2 separate regions of the Homo sapiens genome follow, and region 1 is linked to region 2. Evidence: promoter capture Hi-C in 16 types of primary human blood cells and fetal thymus (Javierre and others, 2016). All regions are on one chromosome and are shown on one strand. The core of a region is centred on a gene start or on the middle of the fragment in contact, and the rest is flanking DNA. Distances in the headings are between cores, read along the strand shown.

Evidence for each region. Contacts are between HindIII fragments. The CHiCAGO score rates a contact against its expected background, and 5 or more counts as called.
Region 1: a fragment that was not itself captured here is called in contact with the fragment with the promoter of SLC26A4 in region 2 in 1 of 17 cell types (total CD4 T cells); the score reaches 5.1 in total CD4 T cells.

What each region holds. Positions count from the first base shown.
Region 1 is chr7:107,224,896-107,228,160 of GRCh38, forward strand. All of the region lies in intron 19 of COG5 (component of oligomeric golgi complex 5), which reads right to left. It overlaps LOC124901721 (a long non-coding RNA gene), which reads left to right. Exons shown (of 3, transcript XR_007060472.1): 2 at 1,442-1,550. Among named protein-coding and RNA genes, the nearest start is that of HBP1, 58 kb to the left of the region's middle. The HindIII fragment of the contact is 172 bases long and covers 1,484-1,655 here.
Region 2 is chr7:107,659,394-107,662,302 of GRCh38, forward strand. It overlaps SLC26A4 (solute carrier family 26 member 4), which reads left to right and starts at 1,435. Exons shown (of 21, transcript NM_000441.2): 1 at 1,435-1,462; 2 at 2,246-2,412. The coding sequence starts at 2,249. SLC26A4-AS1 (SLC26A4 antisense RNA 1) reads right to left here and starts at 2,405. Exons shown (of 2, transcript NR_028137.1): 1 at 2,209-2,405; 2 at 1-813. The HindIII fragment of the contact is 14,838 bases long and covers 1-2,909 here.

The DNA.
Region 1 (3,265 bases), core at 320-2,819, 430 kb before region 2:
TAATGTAGACAGTAAAATGTAAATATATGCAAGAAGCTTGCTGGCTTACATAAATAGTCCACTAATATCACCATCAAGAAGAAAGTGCCCCCTGGCAGATGGCTGCATGATGGGGGAAGGGAGCACCTACTAAGGCCTGTGTGTGTGTATGTATGAGGGCGTGTGCATGTGTGTACATGCTGGGTGTGGTCTGGACTCAAACTCCAGCTGGCACTGTCATCTTCCATTATGAAGGGACCCCTGAACTGAGCCCATTGCCCTCCCCTGCAGCCACTGCCCCTAATTGGAACTGAGGCCCTCTGTGGCTATTGCAACCTACTGGCTTTTGGCTGTTTGGCTGCCTGTTTTTCTTGTCAACTCACGCCTGCTCTTTATTGGGTAATGTTTTAGTACATTTTTTTATTACTTTTTAGCTCCATGGTTATTTTCAAATGGGAAAAACAATGCAAGAGAGATTTAAAAATAGTATTTGACTTTTCTGACTATAAAAATAAAATAAGGCAGAAAATTTAAAAAAAATAAAAACCCTAAAAAAAACCCCAAGTGACAATCTTAGTCAAAGATATTTTCATGTTTTTCCTTTTTGTCTTTTATTCTCCATTCAAACAAATACTTTTATTCATTTATTTTATATTTTGGGACAGGGTCTCACTCTGTCACCCAGGCTGGAGTGCAATGACCCAATCACAGCTCACTGCATCCTTGACCTCCCTGAGCTCAGGTCCTCCCACCTTAGCCTACCGAGTAGCTGGGACCACAGATGTGCACCACCATGCCTGGCTAATTTTTCTATCTTTTGTAAAGACAGAGTTTTGCCATGTTGCTGAGGCTAGTAGATGCTATTATTTTAAAAATAGTAGAGGTCGGCTGGGCATGGTGGCTCTTGCCTGTAATCCCAACACTTTGGGAGGCCGAGGCAGGCAGATCACCTGAGGTCAGGAGTTTGAGACCAGCCTGGCCAACGTGGTGAAACCCCGTCTCTACTAAAAATACAAAAATTTGCCGGGCATGGTGGCAGGGGCCTGTAATCCCAGCTATTCGGGAGGCTGATGCAGGAGAATCGCTTGAATCTGGGAAGCGGAGGTTGCAGTGAACCATGATCATGCCATTGCACTCCAACCTGGGGGACAAAAGCGAGACATCATCACACACACACAAAAAAACAATAAAAAAAATAGTAGAGGTCATACCATATACTGCTTAGTCACCTGTTTTACCTAGTGATGCACTAGGGAGTATTTTTCATTTTACCAGATATTAACTAATAATATTACTGTTAATGTCTGCATATATTTGATCCTATGAATTTAGCATATTTTATTCAGGCAATCTCCTACTGACTACCATTCAACTGGTTTTGGTTTGATTGAGAGTCTTTGGTGAGGAGACCCATGAACAAGTGCCAAGGTCTAACTTGGATGATGCCTATTCTTTGTCACAGCCCACAGCACAGATGGAAGAAGTGCACATATTAATAAGAGTAAGCTTTTCACTGCAACTGCTCAGGACTCATTTTAAAGAAGAGACAGATCTCTAACAAGATTTTGCAGGTAGGTAAAACAGAGGGCCTATAATTAGGTTATTAGAATAAAGATGGCTCTGTACTGATTTACTCCTCTCTAGGAAGGAATTTGGTAGGACCCGCCACATGGGTAAGCTTTCTCAAGTCAATTCTCTTTACATGACAACTGCAAAGAAGCTGGCAGGGCCAGGGCTTTCCCAACAATGGTGCGGGGCAGAGGCCGCAGCACATGCTCACATCTCTCTTCTTCTCATCTGATAGGACTGAAAACATTCTTTGTAGACCAGGGCTGGATTTGAACCCCTTAATATATTATACTTCTGTTTTATTTCTTGATCCAGTTAATCCTAATCCTACGCTTTTTATAAAATAGTTGTATCAGTCCCATCAAACAACTGAGAAAGCACTAGGATTAATTCAGTAGATTTCTGTAGATTCAATATAAATATAGAAATATAATGGTATATAGAAAAATACCTCTGTTGGAATTTTTCAATTAACTCAAGCTATGAAGGATACTCCATAGGCAAGAAACAATTATTCTTATGTGCCTGAGGCCTTGGGAGCTAAGACGTCATCTGCAGGAGGAACCTCAGAGATACCAGAATCCCAAGAGAAAAGGGTATAAATCTTCACAGTTTGTGGAAAGGAAAAAACTTGGCTCCCTGTCACTAGAGCAACTAAAGTTCAAGAGTTAAGGGCCTCGTGAGAAATCTGAGAAATGGCTGGATGCAGGCCATGAGTGGGTCATTAAACTAATTTAGTGGGTTAAAATAATCAAATGAAATAGAAATGTTAGAGGTTATCACATGAAGTAAGGGTACTTACTATTTCATGAACCATACATATGGGTGTCCATGTATATGTATATAGATTTGAGTGTGTTCATGTGTTTGCATACAAGTATATGCCAAATATCAATAGAAAGTATCTTTTACTGTGGGTCATGGTCAAAAGTTTGAAAACTGTTACGCCATAAGAAGCTAGATATAAAAAAAAAAGTAGAACTATTAAAATTATACATTGATCAAGCGATTCTTGATTCTATAAATAGGTATTAGAAGGTGTCACCCAAACTTTAAATGTTCCTTTAGAGATTCTTTCTCTCATGTGAGAATTGGAAAGGGTTGGCAGAAAATTTCCATCTTAAATGGCTTAAAATAGATGTCTTAAGTGAAACTTATCCTCAGACCTTGTATCTCCATACTATGACACAACTTTAAGAGTGCTTACATGAAGGTCATCCTGCCTCAGCAAACAGGAAACTTAGCACTATTTTTTTTTGGGGCGGGGGGTGTGGGTGGTGGGCGGTAAAGGGTCTCAGTCTGTCACCAAGGCTGCAGTGCAGTGGCACAATCTCGACTCACTGTAACCTCCAGCTCCCGGGTTAAAGTGATTCTCCCACCTCAGCCTTCCAAGTAGCTGGGACTACAGATGTGTGCTGCCATGCCTGGCTAATTTTTGTACTTTTTGGTAGAGATGGGGTTTCACCATGTTGGCCAGGCTGAATTAGCATTATTTTATACATGCACGTGCAATAATGCAATAAACAACTAAACATGGGACTGGGGCTATAAAAAATAATAGCCTAGGCCAGGTGTGGTGGCTTACACCTGCCATACTTGTAATCCCAGCAGTCTGGGGGGCTGAGGCGGGCAGATAGCTTGAGCTCAGAAATTCAAGACCAGGCTGGGCAACATGGTGAAACTTTGTTTCTACAAAAAAATATAAAAATTAGCTGGG
Region 2 (2,909 bases), core at 185-2,684:
AACAATAATGAAAAAATACACGCATATATACATATATGGAGAGAGATACATATTTTAGTACATGTAGCAATTGATTAATAAATGTACAGTTTAAGTCGCATGCAAAACCTTGGAGTGATAGCAAACTTCATTGTAGGATGTTTAGCAGCATCTCTGGTCTCTACTCACTAGATCCCAATAGCATCTCCCTAGGTGTGACAACCAAAAATGTCTCCAGGCATTGACCTCTGGAGGCAAAAAAAGCCCTTTATTAAGAACCAGTGGTATACATAAGTAAAACATACACAAGAGATTCCTCCCCTCTTCTCTGTATGTGAATAAAAATTGCAAAGTTCATGACCTGGATTTTCCTTTTAGGTTTCTTCTTTAGTGGTTCTTAACTTCATTGGGTGAAGTAAGCCTTTGAAGATCTGTTGAAAGCTGTTGACTCATTCACTTCTCAGGAAAACGCACATGCTGACTACCATTTCAGAGAATTTGCATCAGGGTTCTCTGGGGAGGAGTTCTGAGTTCTGTTTCCAGGAGCTCGTAGAATTGTCATGGTCTGCATATGCAAGGCAGGTGGATTACGGAAGGTTGATGTACAGAGGTCTGTATTTTGGAGCCTCTTCTGTATTTACTTCAGAACACTAACAATCAGGCGAGAATGTTCTGGTTTATCAAACCCTTCCTTCTGCCTTTCATCTTAACCATGCATTAGTTTTAACAAAGTTCATCCCAACAGAAGACAAAACACTGATGAGGTAGGATAGCTCCAGCTCCTCCTCCCTCTCTTCTAGTCTTGATTTCCATGTAGTCCAGTTTATTCCTTCCCTGATTGTCCAGGAGAATGAGAAAAAGAAAAAACAGAGTCTAGTGGGTAAGAAAGGGCCACCTGGACGGCTTGATTTGGATTGTGAAATAAAACACACACACATGCACACGTAGAATAAGTGGCTAAAATCTGAGTAAATCGTGAACTCTCTGTATCCTCCACCCATTGAATACTCCTAAAAGACTTTCTAGAAATTCAAGGACTTATTAATATAGAAACCTGGCCATTGTTCCTCTTCTCCTCCCCATGTGGTATGAGAGCACCTGTGGCAGGCTCCCAGAGACCACGGACCTCTTCCTCTAGGCGGGCTCTGCTCTTCTTTAAGGAGTCCCACAGGGCCTGGCCCGCCCCTGACCTCGCAACCCTTGAGATTAGTAACGGGATGAGTGAGGATCCGGGTGGCCCCTGCGTGGCAGCCAGTAAGAGTCTCAGCCTTCCCGGTTCGGGAAAGGGGAAGAATGCAGGAGGGGTAGGATTTCTTTCCTGATAGGATCGGTTGGGAAAGACCGCAGCCTGTGTGTGTCTTTCCCTTCGACCAAGGTGTCTGTTGCTCCGTAAATAAAACGTCCCACTGCCTTCTGAGAGCGCTATAAAGGCAGCGGAAGGGTAGTCCGCGGGGCATTCCGGGCGGGGCGCGAGCAGAGACAGGTGAGTTCGCCCTGAAGATGCCCACACCGCCCGGCCCGGGCTCCACTCCCGGGGAGGCCTCGAGGGTTGCGGATGGGACTCTTAAGTGGTCACGGATCAGGTGGGCAGGGGGCAGTACAGCTTTCTTTCTGAGACGCCGAGAGCGAACAGGCTGCTCGGAAAACAGGACGAGGGGAGAGACTTGCTCAATAAGCTGAAAGTTCTGCCCCCGAGAGGGCTGCGACAGCTGCTGGAATGTGCCTGCAGCGTCCGCCTCTTGGGGACCCGCGGAGCGCGCCCTGACGGTTCCACGCCTGGCCCGGGGGTCTGCACCTCTCCTCCAGTGCGCACCTGGAGCTGCGTCCCGGGTCAGGTGCGGGGAGGGAGGGAATCTCAGTGTCCCCTTCCAGCCTTGCAAGCGCCTTTGGCCCCTGCCCCAGCCCCTCGGTTTGGGGGAGATTTCAGAACGCGGACAGCGCCCTGGCTGCGGGCCATAGGGGACTGGGTGGAACTCGGGAAGCCCCCAGAGCAGGGGCTTACTCGCTTCAAGTTTGGGGAACCCCGGGCAGCGGGTGCAGGCCACGAGACCCGAAGGTTCTCAGGTGCCCCCCTGCAGGCTGGCCGTGCGCGCCGTGGGGCGCTTGTCGCGAGCGCCGAGGGCTGCAGGACGCGGACCAGACTCGCGGTGCAGGGGGGCCTGGCTGCAGCTAACAGGTGATCCCGTTCTTTCTGTTCCTCGCTCTTCCCCTCCGATCGTCCTCGCTTACCGCGTGTCCTCCCTCCTCGCTGTCCTCTGGCTCGCAGGTCATGGCAGCGCCAGGCGGCAGGTCGGAGCCGCCGCAGCTCCCCGAGTACAGCTGCAGCTACATGGTGTCGCGGCCGGTCTACAGCGAGCTCGCTTTCCAGCAACAGCACGAGCGGCGCCTGCAGGAGCGCAAGACGCTGCGGGAGAGCCTGGCCAAGTGCTGCAGGTAGCGGCCGCGCGGGCCTGCGTAGAGAGAAGCGGAGCGGGGCGTCCACGCCTTGGGGAGGGAAGGGCGTCCCCAGCGGGCGAGAGTGGGGTGCGGGCGGCGGAGCCCCTGGGCGCCAGCTGCTTCTCCCAGAGGCCCGACTTTCGGTCTCCGGTCCTCCACGCCGCCCTTCTGGTGGGAGGGTGGCTCCATCAGTCTCGGGCCCGAAATGAACTTACCTGGGAAACTCGCCTTTGGGGAGAGTGGGTTCTAGGAGCCCCGTCTCTCTTTTTCCTCTCTGAAGGAAACTTGGAGTGCCTCTTGGGGTACAGTGGGTCCCTGTTGCCTTCTTGGGAGCTTGTTTAAATGAAATGAATAGGGAAACCCAGCTCTTGACCAGGAGGAGTCCTTGAAACACTCAAGCTAAGTAGGCGGGCTACCATTCAGTTAGAGACCAGGATGCAAGCTAGAACCCAGGGGAGCGCGGGGTGTGCCAAGTACTTCATCAGCAGGCTGTG